Linked DNA regions of Homo sapiens: region 2 is linked to region 1. The links are contacts of gene promoters, found by promoter capture Hi-C in human tissues and cell types (Jung and others, 2019). All regions are on one chromosome and are shown on one strand. Each heading gives the region's core, a stretch centred on a gene start or on the middle of the fragment in contact. The rest is flanking DNA. Distances are from core to core; before and after follow the strand shown.

Evidence for each region. Contacts are between HindIII fragments. The study calls those that stand out against the background at their distance.
Region 2: a fragment that was not itself captured here is called in contact with the fragment with the promoter of EIF2D in region 1 in 1 of the 25 tissues and cell types used here (thymus).

Annotation. Positions count from the first base shown.
Region 1 is chr1:206,608,118-206,615,024 of GRCh38, forward strand. EIF2D (eukaryotic translation initiation factor 2D) reads right to left here and starts at 4,348. Exons shown (of 15, transcript NM_006893.3): 1 at 4,170-4,348; 2 at 3,067-3,257; 3 at 1,259-1,342; 4 at 119-209. The coding sequence starts at 4,225. RefSeq lists enhancers at 1,431-1,530, 1,571-1,630, 4,041-4,110 and a silencer at 4,401-4,610. The HindIII fragment of the contact is 7,443 bases long and covers 2,436-6,907 here.
Region 2 is chr1:206,872,821-206,880,130 of GRCh38, forward strand. No RefSeq gene overlaps it. Among named protein-coding and RNA genes, the nearest start is that of IL20, 11 kb to the left of the region's middle. The HindIII fragment of the contact is 5,366 bases long and covers 1-4,538 here.

The sequences.
Region 1 (6,907 bases), core at 3,098-5,597:
TCCAAAACCGATTTTTGCTTTCACTCTTTTGTTCATATGCTTTATAAGTTGTCATTCCCCTCCAACTTCTCTTTTACACAAGTTTTTCCCCCAAAGGCACAGTTGCCTGGCACAGTACCTGTTCCCCACCAAAGAAATGGCACAGAGGTCGCCCTTCTGTACCTGAGGCAGACCAGCAGGGGGCATCACCAGTCCAGGCAGCATCAAATCTGCAATGAACAAAAAAAATCACAACCTGCATTCAGCCTCCATCTCACTCTGCGTTTTACTTCATCATTTCCTCACTCGCTCAACAAAAAAATAGTTACTAGGTATCAACTATGTTTTTCATAATAAAAATGAAAAATGGCAACTTCCAACAAAAAAATAGTTATTAGTTATCAACTATGTTATTCATAATAAAAATGAAAAATGGCAACTTCAGTATCAGACCTTCTCCCCTTAGGGGGCTAAAGGTCAAACAGAGTTTGAGTGTCCTGGCCGGGCGCAGTGCCTTATGCCTGTGGCTTACGCTTTTTATGACCCCTTCACCCATCCAATAGCAGGACATTTATTTTTATTCAAATGGTGGTTTCTAAGCCAGAAGTGGGAACCTTGACTTCCACTCCAGACTCAGCTCCTAACATTCTTCTGGCATAAAAGAGCTACTCTTAGCCAGGTGCGGTGGCTCACGCCTGTAATCCCAGCACTCTGGGAGGCCAAGGCGGGCAGTTGACTTGAGGTCAGAAGTTCGAGACCAGCCTGGCCAACATGATGAAACCCTGTCTCTACTAAAAATACAAAAATTAGCCAGGCGTGGTGATGCACACCTGTAATCCCAGTTACTCGGGAGGCTGAGGCAGGAGAATCACTTGAACCTGGGAGGCAGAGGTTGTAGTGAGCCGAGATCATGCCACTGCACTCCAGCCTGAGCAACAGAGTGAGACTCCATCTCAAAAAAAAAAAAATAAAAAAAGTTTGAGTAGCCTATAACATGATCTGTCTTGTCCTAGTTTCCTAAATTCAGCTTATTGATTTACAGTATAGCACATGGTGGTTCATAAAATACTTTCACAACACTTATTTAAGCCTTACAACAGGGCCAGAGGGGCCCAGAGATCTTGTGTGGAACCAGCCAAGTGAGAAACATAAAACACATAGGGGAAAAAATTCCATTTTTCAACCACAAAAACACAGGAAATGGGTAAGTTTATTACATCAGTTGGCTTTTGCTAAGTAGGTTTCAGCCAATAGCCAGAATATAGGAGAATCCTCTTACCTGCTCCCCCTACCAGTTTCTCGAGCACCAGAGGCCATGTTGTAAAGGTTGGCAGAAGATCAGGATAGGACCACAGCGTGTACACTGTACAAAAAGAGATCCAGAAAACACTACTACCAAAAAGCCAATCTTCTAGAGAAATGGAAAAACCTAACACTATGGTCACTTTAATTAGAATACAGGAAAGAAACTCAACTCAAAGCTAAAGAGAAGGTTGTAAGGGGATGCCCAGAGAGGTTTCATTTTTGAGGAAGGAAAAAACCTAAGAAACTGAGTGTCACTTGAGATTTGGAGGCATCCGGATTGCAGCAGCAGAAAATGGTCACAGTGGACAAAAAAGTGAGGGCAGAGAACCAATGAAGCTTTTATTTACGGCTTCAGAAGCAAGTAGCCTAAGAACAGGAAGCCAGCTGTATAAAATTTGGAAACTTTCCCATGTTTATCATTTTTATCCCCTCTGTTTCCATAGTGATTAGCAGCAAAAACCCCTAGGTCAAAAAGCATTGTGGTTGTCTTCAGGTACAGCAAGGAAGTGAGATCAGGGGCAGGAGTGGCCTAAGGATATTGCATTGCACTATTGCAGACAACCCTGGAGGATGAAAAGCCCCAAGTTACAAAGTAGGTGTCAGCAGCTATGGAAAAGAGAAAAGGAGACTGAGTCCCTGAGATTTGTGACAGAGAAGGCAAAGAATCCTAGAGAGCCACTCATAGCCTAAAAAATCCCTGTGAGACCTATGGTTAAAGTACACCATGAAAACAGCTGGATATGTAGCTTATCAATCCAGCTTTATTCCTATCACAGTATATCTTTTCAGTATTTTAGGAAAATCCTGCTACAGATAGTTTTAAGAAACATTTTTTAGGCTGGGCACCCTGCTCATGCCTGTAATCCCAACACTTCGGGAGACTGAGGCAGGAAAATCACTTGAGCTCAAGAGTTCAAGACCAGCCCGAGCAACATAGTGAGACCTTGTCTCTACCAAAAATTTTAAACGTAGCCAGACATGGTGGCATATGCCTGTAGTCCCAGCTACACAGGAGGCTGAGGTGGGAGGATCCCTTAAGCACAGGAGGTTGAGGTTACAGTTAGCTACGATCACACCACTGCACTTCAGCCTGGGTGACAGAGTAAGACCTTGTCTCTAAAAAATATATATATTTTTGGCCAGGCGCGGTGGCTCACGTCTGTAATTCCAGCACTTTGGGAGGCCGAGGCGGGCGGATCATGAGGTCAGGAGATCAAGATCATCCTGGCTAACATGGTGAAATCCCGTCTCTACTAAAAAATGCAAAAAATTAGCAAGGTGTGGTGGCGGGTGCCTGTAGTTCCTGCTACTCGGGAGGCTGAGGCAAGAGAATGGTGTGAACCCAGGAGGCGGAGCTTGCAGTGAGCTGAGATTGCGCCACTGCACTCCAGCCTGGGCAACAGAGCAAGACTCTGTCTCATGAAGACATGCCCTGAAATTCCATCCTTTTCAAGACCTCTGCTCTATTCCTAGTCAACCCACTGTAAACTTCTCAGCCACTGTTCCTTCATCTCAGAACTTCCCTTTGCAACCACCCTTACTTACTATGTCAGCCCTTTTTTTAATCCCTCCTATAGTGGTTTTGCATAAGAGAAAACCTTTTGCATCCTAGAATTGAAAGACCCAATTCTAGGAACACCAGGTCCATAAAGATCCTTGGGGATGGTATTGGGAGATTTCGTGCTTGCTTATTTTATGGGAGACAATGGAAGAAACAGAGAGAAGCAGATGTTAGGCAAGAACTACCTAATGGTAATGGCCATCTTCGTCCTGTTGTCATACCTGTTGGATACAGATTTTTCTCCAGTTCAAAGAGGATGGGGTTACCACCACTCACGTACACAGTCACTGCATCCCCTTTGTGAGCATACAACTTCACAATGTTGAGCTCCTCCTTTCCAGGTACTAACTCAGAGACTTGATCAGTTCCAAGGGTGGGGAAAGCAGTTGTCACATCAGCTCGAAGCTTTCTCCTGTGGAAAGCACACCAGCACTGTGAATGCTGCCTGGACAGACTTTTAATAAATATCAAGAACGAACTCAAAAGTGCTCACTATAAAATCACAAGGGCCAAAGAAAGATTGCCTGGTTTATGATGTCCTAGTCTCACACACACTCTTCTGAAACATCCTAAACTCTTTTTCATCCATTGTCATCTATTTTCACTCATTCCTGGGGTATGCCTTCCCATTTTATGGGTGGGAAAACAGGCCCAGTGAACAATCCAAGTTAGCCTGACACAGGAAACAGCCCTGCCTTCCTGACTTCATGCCTAGCCCTTGGGCCCACTCCTTTCTCATACATGCTTCGCAAATATGCCAGTTTATGATTAAATAACTATGCCATGAGACCTATAGACAACTATAAAGCACTGGTTACAAAATTCCAAACACAATCTCCATTTGTGACCCTGTCTGAACAGATACAGTTCTTCTTACCACATGTGCCTTATTCCCTCCCACCTCAGTTTCCAGCTGTCTCTCCTGCCAGAATTAATCACTAGTCATTTTTTTCTCTTATACTTTTAATTCTTGGTATCCCATCCGATCTCTCCCAAGGGGCATTAAGCTCTTTGGAGGGCAAGAATTCTGTATTCCTTCACTTCTGCATTCTCCACAACACCTTAAATAGTCTGCAGTCAGTAAACTCTGACTTAACTACGTTTTCTTTTAAACTCACTAGACTATCCAAAAGAGAGCCAGGTCCCCCTCCATCCTCACCTCAAAATGTGTCTAACCCACCCTTGCCTCCTGGGGTCCCTTCCCTGGCATACCCCTCGGCCTCCACCCGAGGATGTCGGCCAAGAATAGCGAGGGCTATGGGCCAGCGGGGCCCAAGAGGTGTCTGGTTGTTCCGTGGCAGAGCAGGCCCCTTTCCTCCCTCACCTGTCCGACCCCTTGATGGCCGTGTTGGACTTGACCCGAAAGGCCTTGGCAAACATGTCTGCTGGGGTGGCCTGGGGAAGAGAGCACAGAAGCCAGGGAATGTCAAGAAAGCGAGGGCGCAGCAGCTGCCAGGCCCTCAGCCGTGGGGGCAGCCATGCTGGGGCCCGGCCGCGAAAAGGGCCCGGCTGGAAACCAGGGCCGCGCAGCTTCGTGGCCGTTGCCGCTGGGGAGGCCGCGGCCGCCCCCAGTGGCGGTACCTGGAACTAAAGCAGGGCAGGGAGGGGCAGGGCCCAGGGAACGCCCCTCCCCCCCACCTTCCCATCCCCTCGCGGGCCTGGCTCTGCGCCTGCGCGAGCGGCTCGGGTTCCCCGTCCGTAGCGACTCGGCCACGCCAATAGCTGTTCTGTTTATTTCCTTCCACCCCATCAACCTTAGGAACTGCTTTGAGTAGAAGCTCTCTGCAAGCTCCCATTCCATTCGGTTCGGTTCAATTCCGCAAAAATAATTGAACTGATAAACAGTTCAGGCTTCGGCCGGGCGCGGTGGCCCAAGCCTGTTATCCCAGACTTTGGGAGGCCGAGGCGGGCGGACCGCTTAAGCCCAGAAGTTCGAGACCAGCCTGGGCAACATGGCGAAACCCCATCTCCATAAAAAATACAAAATAAAAAAAAAAAAAAAAAAAAAAAAAAAGAAAGAAAGAAAGAAAGAAAAAGAATTGGGAGGCCGAGGTGGGCGGATCACCTGAGGTCGGGAGTTCGAGACCAGCCTGATCAACATGGAGAAACCCTGTCTGTACTAAAAATACAAAATTAGCCGGGCATGGTGGAGCATGCCTGTAATCCCAGCTACTCGGGAGGCTGAGGCAGGAGAATTGCTTGAACCCGGGAGGCAGAGGTTGTGGTGAGCCGAGATTGCACAATTGCACTCCAGCCTGGGCAACAAGAGTGAAAGTCCGTCTCAAAAAAAAAAAAAAAAGAAAAGAAAAAAGAAAAATTCAGCCGGGTGTGGTGGCGCATGCCTGGGGAGGCTAAGGCGGTAGGATCGCTTGAGCCCAGGAGGCAGAGGTTGCCGTGAGCCGAGATTGTGCCACTGCACCCCACCTTGGACAACAGAGTAAGACTCCGTATCAAAAAAATCAAACAAACAAACAAAAAAACCTCGAGGGCTTTTTGAATATTTTTCTTTATTTTATTTTATTTTGTTTACTTGGAGACAGGGTCTCGCTGTGTCACCCAGGCTGGAGTGCAGTGGCGCAATCTCAGCTCAATGCAGCCTCCACCTCCCGGGCTCAAGCGATCCATCCGCTTCAGCCTCCCGAGTAGCTGGGACTACAGGCGGGCACCACCACACCAGGCTAATTTTTGTATTTTTTGTAGAGACAGGATCTCACCTTGTTGCCCAGGCTGGTCTCAAACTCCTGAGGTCAAGAGATCTGTCCGCCTCGGCCTCCCAAAGTGGTGGGATTACAGGACAGGTGTGAACCACCAAGTCGGGCCTAAATGTTTTTCTTAAAGGCATTCTATGATTAAGGTCTATTCATTGTACTATAAGCTAGAAGCCTCAGCTAGAATTTTCTGTAAGATTTTTCTCATCCCGGATTTTTAGTTTACTTGGGTGGTAATAACAGTAATAGAGAATTCACTGTTGTCCCAGATTTGTCCCAAAGTCACACAGGCAGGGAAGAGAAATTAGGTTTTCCTCAAAGGGACAGCTGTGTTCCCTGGAGACAAGGATTTAAACACCCGGAATCCTGGCTCTTCGTAAATTAAGTCTTGCATATTAAAATTACATTAAGCAATTTAAGTAATAAAAGTAAATTATGTTTTGCATATTAAAACTTCCAAGTGTCCATTCACCAATAAAAAATCCCAATTGATTCAGTGACGCAGTTGCACAAAGGAGAATTCCACACTGGCTTTCTAAACATTAGGCCTTCTACAATGTTTGCCCACCACCTATAGTGGCCTAGGGACCAGCCCCAACTCCTCCTAAACCTGTGACCCACTAGGCCTTTATTCTGAAGTATCCCAGCCACCAGGCCAATGTCAAAGGAGCCCAGAGGAGGACAGTGCCTACAACAGACCCCTGTACCCACCCTTCACCTCCCACTTAGCCACTCTTCGGATGTGCAATACATTTGGGGTCTTTTGCAGCACAGCTGCTGAGGAAGCCTCTTTCTTAGGGAACAGAGGAAAGCTATTCAGAGAATACTAAACATTTTAAGCTAGGGGAACTTTTGTATACCAGATGTCCTTGGATAAGAAAACATCAATTGTAAACCTAAAAATTAATTAGTGGTTGACAAGTAGGAGCCAAGACCCCAGAGGATTCTGCACCATGGCATCCAGCCTCCTCTTTGGTAGAGCAAGAGCCCCCTTCCCCAGTGGGCACAATCCCACCTTCTCTGCTTGCATCACAGACCTGCCTGCTCCCTGCTGGCTGACCCTATTGCAGGGAAAGCAGCCTGAACCTTAAGTTCAGCAAGCCCTGATTCCTGTGCCTTCCATCAGCAGCTCCAGAGCCACCCCACAGGGCTCCCAGACTGTTCCCCACTGGTGGGTCTGAGCTGCCAAGTTGCAGCAAGGCACAGGGCAACTATACCAAGAAAGCTGCCATTTACTGAGAAAAAGGATCGTTTTCACTAATTATACTTGATAGCAACTGGCTGTAAATTGGATTCTTTACAAGAGTACCAAGTATTTGGAAGCAAGGGTAGGCCAGATGAGAGATTCCATTTT
Region 2 (7,310 bases), core at 606-3,105, 260 kb after region 1:
TTCCACACTGCATTTGTAAAATGACAGGGTTGGAATAGATGATTCTGGGTTCTAGAAACTAGATGTGTTACCACTGTCTCAGGGAACCAGATGTAGCTGCTGCCACAATTGCCTTCCATTAGCGAAAAGGAACCTGCATGGTTTCTGTATCACCAGCTTTGGATTCAGAGTTCAATGAATGCATCTGATTGCACAGGCCGAGATGAGATGAGGCCATGTGCTCTGGATGACAAGGAGGCTGGACAAGCTTCCTCTGATGGGAGATGGGCTCTTTCTCAAAAGGAGCGGCATCCCAAACTTAGGAATGAGGTCCAAGCCCAGGTGACCAAAAAGACTTTAAAAAGTCTACTATATCCCTCATTTCCACCATGGCTTGGGGTTGCTCAGACTCCCTATTTGCAAAGATTCAGGTCTTTTCTAACATACTCCACTGTAGCTTTGTCTGCCTGTCCCTCTCCATATGGATGGAGAACAAACGGACCATTCCCTCGCTGGACTCCTAAGTTCCTGGAAGTTAGGGCTATGTTGTCTTTTTAGCTTTTTAGCCTGCCACACCCTACCCCATCTCAGCACAGTATAATGCTACATTATTAATAAGGACTGAATCTGAAAGCAAGATAATGGAAAGTGTTTTTTTAAAAATATATCAAATGTAGTTGCTTTTTATTTGTAAATGGCTGTTAGCTGATTTTTTCATGAGTTAAAGGCCTTTGGCCTTTGTTAGAAAACAGATAATCCACCCTGCTCTGCAAACTGGGCCTTGCTCACGGGAGGCAGTACAATAAATGGCAAAAGAATGACTGAATATAGCCACTCACTTATTTCACTGGGAGATTGGGAACAAAAAAGGTGACATTTGCCAGTTCAGTTCAACTGTCAGGAGCACAGTGAGTCAATCACTTAACGGGAAGAGAGTAGGACTCAGAGGCCTGGAGGCAGGAAGCCATGAATTGTAAGAGTGCTCACACCTTTCTGTGTACATTCTTAGTCTTCTAGAATGTTAGAAGTGGGAAGGAATGTTCATAGAGAATATGCAGATCTACATAGAGAATATGCAGATCATTTTCGAGGGTCCAGAGAGGAAAAGTGATTTGCCAAAGGTTAATACAGTGAGTTATGGCCGAGTTGGCATTAAAATTCAGTTCCTGGCTGGGCATGTTGGTGCATGCCTGTAATCCCAGTACTTTGGGAGGAAGAAGTGGGTGGACTGCTTGAGCCAGGAGTTTGAGACCAGTCTGGGCAACATAGTAAGACCTTGCCTCTACAAAAAAAAAAAAAAAAAAAAAAAAAAATTAGGTGAGAGGATCTCTTGAGCCTGGGAGATTAAGGCTGTACTTAACCATGATCCTGCACTACACTCCTGACTGGGTGACAGAGTAAGCCTCAGAAAAAAAACAAAAAAAATTCAAGTCCCTGTACATCCAGGTCCAGTAAACCTCAGTTCAATTCAAGAAGAACTAAATGTTATCCAGATTACAAATGAAGAATGTATTTATTCATAGATGACATGATTATCTAGGTAGAAACATCCAATGGAATTTACAAAAAGCAACAAACTAGGTGCAATGGCTCATGCTTGTAATCCCAGGACTTTGAGAGGTTGAGGCAGGAGGATCACTTGAGCTCAGGAGTTCGAGTCCAGCCTGGGCAGTAGAGTAAGGCCCCATCTCTACAAAAAGTTAGCTAGGTGTGGTGGCAAGCATCTGTGGTCCCAGCTACACAGGAGGCTGAGGTGGGAGGATTGCTTGGGCCCAGGAAGCCAATGATGTAGTGTGCTGTGTTCCCACCACTGCACTGCAGCTTTGGTGACAGAGGGAGACCCAGTCTCAGCAATAACAACAAAAGCAACTAGAACTAATAAGAAAGCTTAGTGAAGTTGCAGAATACAAGATCAATATACAAAAACAAGTTGTATTTCCATACACCAGCAACACACTCTTGGAACTTGAAATTTTTAAAGATTACTAATTACAATAGCATAAAAAATGAAAATACTTGGGGATAAATCAGGGACAGAAGATTTAAAAGATCTCTACTGGAAACTGCAAACCATTGCTGGAAGAAATTAAAGACGATCTAAATAATAAATATATACCATATTCATGGGTTAAAAGATTCAACTTTATTAAGATTTTCTCCCCAACATGATCTATAAACTTAAGGCATTCACAATCAAAATTCCAGCTGCTTTGTTTTAGGTAAAATTTATAAACCAATTTTAAAATTAATATAAAATGAAACAGATTAAAAATGGCCAGAATAACTTTTAAAAAGAACAAAATTGGAGGATTAATATTATCTGATTTCAAATTTATATAAAGCTATGGCAATTCAGACAGTATAGTATTGATGTAAAGATAGAAGATCGAAAAATAGATCAATGGAACAGAATAGAAAGTCTTGAAAAGACCCATGTATATATGGACAATTGATTTTCAACAAAGTACAACAGCAATTTGGTTAAGATAAAATAGTCTTTTAAAGAGATGGTGCTATAGTAGTTGGGTAGCCAAACAGCAAAAAAAAACGGGGCAAAACAAAACAAAAAACACAAAATAAAAACAAAAAACCCAAAAAACCAAAACAAAAATCAAACAACAACAACAACAACAAAAACCCTTGGATTCATACCTCACTTCATAATTAAAACTTAACTAAAAATGGACCCTGGATCTAAGTGTACAACTACACAACTTCTCAAGGAAAACTCTTGTGACTTTGGATTAGTCAAAAATTCTTTAGATTTAGCAGCAAAAGCACAATCTATAAAAGAACAAATTGGTAAGTTGTACTACATCAAAGTTAAAAATTTCTGTTCTTCAAAAGACATCTAAGAAAATGAAAAGATAATCCATAGTCAGGGAGAAAACATTTATAAATCCTGTATATGATAAAGAACTTGTGTCCAGAAAACATAAAGAATACTCAGAACTCAATTACAAGAAAACAATGCAATTTTCTAAATGAGCAAAAGATTTGGACACCAAAGAAGATAAACAAATGCCTGCCTCCACCCTCCCCCCTCCCCCAAAAAACACATGAAAAGATGCCCAACATCATTTGTCAGTACGTAAGTGCAAATTAAAGCCACAATAAGATAGCACACCTGTTAGAATGGCTACAATTAAAAAGAATGAACACACTAAGTGTTGGAGAAGTTGTGGAAGAACTAAAATTGTCTTATACTGCTGATGATAAGAATGTAAAATGGCACAACCACTTTGGAAAACAGTTTATTGGTTTCTTAAAAAGCTATATGACCCAACTATTCCACTTCTACATATTCATCCAAGAGAAAAGGAAGAATATGTCCATACAAACACTTATACAAGAACGTTCATGTCAGCTTTATTTTTAATAGTCAGCAATTTCAAACAATCTTAATGTCATTAACAAGTGAATAGGTAAACTAATTGCAGTAGATATGTGCATTATCTTGATGGTGGTGAAGGTTTTATAGGTATATACATATGTCGAAACTTACCAAACTGTATACTTTAAATATGTGCAGTTTATTGCATGCTAATTATTGCCCAGTAAAGGTGTGAAAAATTCAATTCAAGATAATTTCTTTTCTAGGCATTGTGGATGTTACAAATGCATAAAGAGAGTATGTGGTAGGGCAGTCATGTCCAGCAATATGAGGCTCAATGTGATTAAGGCAAGACGTTCATGCAGGGAGGTCAGGGAAGGCTTTCTGAAAAATGGATCTTGGATTGGACTTTTAAGGTCCAATTTGATGTCAGTGAGGGGCATGGGAAGACAGGGACCTTGAAGTCCTGCTAGCCCAGGGAAGTGGCTCAATCCTGAACTAATATCTATATTCTCTATCACATTTATGGCATATCATAGTTCAAAATACTTTTATTTAAATTATTTAATTTGTTTCTTTATGTACCACCTCCTATGAAAGTGATTGAGAGAGGCTTATATGAACACATACAATACAACAAGAGTTAAAGAAAATAGATGAAACACGTGGAATACAGACAATATAACGAAATTGTGATAAGATCATTTCACAAAGGATATATGATAAGGTTCTGAATCATAAGTTGGTAGAAGGATTAAAATTTGGCTCTGAACTTTCTAAAGGATGGAACAAAGAGAGAAGCATGATCATTACAAAAAGTACCGAGCATTCTTTACCAATAACTTGGAAAAGGAAAAAAGGAACAACTTACCAAGCACTTTGTCTAGGTTCTCTCATTCAAACCTCACATACCCTGAACAGTGGGCCTGTCTTTCCTACAGATGGCAGAGATCAGTGATTTCTGGAGCTGTTATGGAGATGGTTAATATGTGGAAGTAGCTCCCTCTTTGTCTTGCATAAAGGAGGGAACTGCTGCTGGTCTTTAAATGAATCTTTTCACTGAGAAGGATTCAGAAAGAATCTAAAAAATTCTTTTCAGAGACAGAAAATCAGCTTTGAGGACGTGTGCAGTGGCTTACGCCTGTAATCCCAGCACTTTGGGGGCCCAAGGTGGGCAGATCACTTGAGGCCAGGAGTTTGAGACCAGCATGACCAACATGGCAAAACCCCATACATGCAAAACTTAGCCAGGTGTGCTGGTGGACACCTGAAATCCCAGCTACTTGGGATGATGAGGCAGGAGAGTCTCTTAAACTGGGAGGTGGAGGCTGCAGTGAGCAAAGATTGTGCCACTGCACAATTAACTGCAACAAAGCAAGACTCTATCTCAAAAAAAAAAAAAAAAAAGAAAAAGGAGAAAAGAAAACCAGCTTTGGATCATCTCGATCTATGATTAGATGAAGATGATATGGAATTACTAATCCCCTAGCTTTCTTCTAGACACAAATGTAAATCCACCTCAGAGGAAGATACTATTATTACAATGTGAAAACATCTGAAAGTATTAGAGACGTAACAAAACAGGCATAACTATAGGGCCAAGGTTTGGGAGATGAAAACTCACAGAAGTGAGCCCAGTGTTGGGGGATGCTTTTCCCCTAGGGATATAATCTAAATTCACAAAAATTGATGTAAGTTTGGAAGACTGAGAGGCTGAAAATAAAGGTATTTTTCTCAGAGCCTGCTAAAGAAGGCTCTGGCAACCTCCTTTCCAGGCTTTGGGTTGGGATCTCAAGGTGCTACAACCTAGGAGTGAAATTGCCTTTGCAAAAATTATGACAGTGAGAGAAATCTGACAGAAAAATTATGACAGTGAAATAAATCTGACATAACTAATTCCATCTTTCCTGTAATCTTCAAGTTGCCCTTGTCCATTCCTGGACATAAGCCAAGCTAACTACGGGAGGAATTTAGTTTATAGTTTAACTTTAAAACAAAGATGATAATACCCCCTTCCTGAAACTAACTTGCTCCTTGCTCAGGGACTGAAACTACCTGTGCAAAACTAAACTTAGCAATATGGTTAGAATTATAGTTCAGGAGTCATGTAGCCAGAGGTCACAAAATTTGTAACCTCCCCAATTTCTCCTATAGATAGCATCACTATTGTCAACCTAAGATTGGTATTTGAGGTATTTTCCAGACCCTGCATTTTGATGGACCAGCTGATGGTCCACCTGAACCAGTAACCCATACCAAGAAACTTGCCCATTTGGTGTTGTGACCCCCACCCAGAAACTGACTCAGCATAAGAAGACAGCTTTGATCCCCTATGATTTCATCCCTGACCCAACCAATCAGCATTCTCCATTCCCTAGATCCCTGCCTTCCAAATATCCTTGAAAAGCCCTAGCCTCTGAGTTTTTGAGGAGGCTGATTTGAGTAAGAATTACTCCCATCCATTTGCTCAGCTACCTAGCCCTGTGATTATTAAACTCTTTCTCTGCTGTAATATCACTGTCTTGGTGGATTGGCTTTATCTGTGCAGTAGACAAGAAGAACCCACCTGGTGGTAACAGCAGAAATGGCAATTCATAAATAGGCTAGTTATACCAGGGACAGAAAACCAGCTTTAAATCATCTCAGTCTATGATTAGATCAAGGTAATATGGGATTACTAATCCCCTAGCTTCCTTCCAGAAGCAAATGTAAATCCATCTCAGAGGAAGACAATATTATTCCAAGTTTAACATTATTTTTTATAATTTTTCATATGCAATATCTGGAGCTCAAAGACAAATAACAACAAATGAGGAGACAAAATAATGTGATATAAAATAATGGAAAAAATAATGTTAGTTTTCAAAGAAAAATAATAAAAAGACAATAGAAATAGATATACAGGGAGTGCAGATAATAGAGTTATCAGATATAGGCTTTATAGTAACTATGAAAAATACATGCAAGGAAATAAAAAGCAAGACCATTTCAACAGAGAACTGGGAACTATAAAGAAACTTATTTGAAATTCTAGAACAGTACAGATAATACAAATTTAGAGTTCAATGGATGAAACTTGACAGAGATTAGATATAGATAAAGGCAGAAAATATCCAGAAAAAAATAGAGAGGCAAAGAAATGGAAAATATAGAAAATCATACAAAACATAGAGAACACAGTGAAGAAGTCTGTATACATGTAATTGAATTCCCTGAAAAAGAGGCAAGAGAAACTGTGGGGCAGAAACAATATTCCTAGAGATAATAACTGGGAATTTTAAAAAGCTGATAAAACATATAAGACCACAGATTTTAAAAACTCCACAACCCCAGGCAATCAAAATACAAAGAAAACACATCTAAGCACATTATAGTAAAATTGCTGAAAATTGAAGACAAAAGTATAACTTCAGAAACAATCAGAAGAAAAGAAAAACTACTTTCAAATGACTAAGATTAGCAACTGTCTTCTCAACAAAAACAGTGAAAGCCATAAAATAAGGAAACGATATCTTTGAATTGCTGGGAGGAAAAAACAACTATAAAGAAAAACAAGTACTGTCAACCAAAAGTTCTATAACCAGAGGAGAAATGCTTCGTAAATGATGGTGAATACATATATAATATACTCTATCAAAATCTCAACTGGCATTTTTTTTTTGCAGAAATTAACGAATTGATCTGTCTTAGTCAGAGTTCTCCAGAGAAACAGAACAAATAGTATATATGGATTATAGAAGCTGAGATGTCTTGAGATCTGCAGCTGGAAAGCTGGAGACCCAGGAAAGCCAACAGCATAGTTCTAGTTTCAGTATAAAGGCCTGATAATCAGGTGGGCCAATTTTATAAGTTCCAGTCTGAGTACAAGTCTGAAGGCAGGAGAAAACCGATGCCTAAGCTTGAAGAGAGTCAGGCAGAGAGAGTGAATTCTCCATTGCTCAGGGTTGTTTTGTTGTTTTTGTTTTTGTTTTGGAGACAGAGTCTCACTCTATCACCC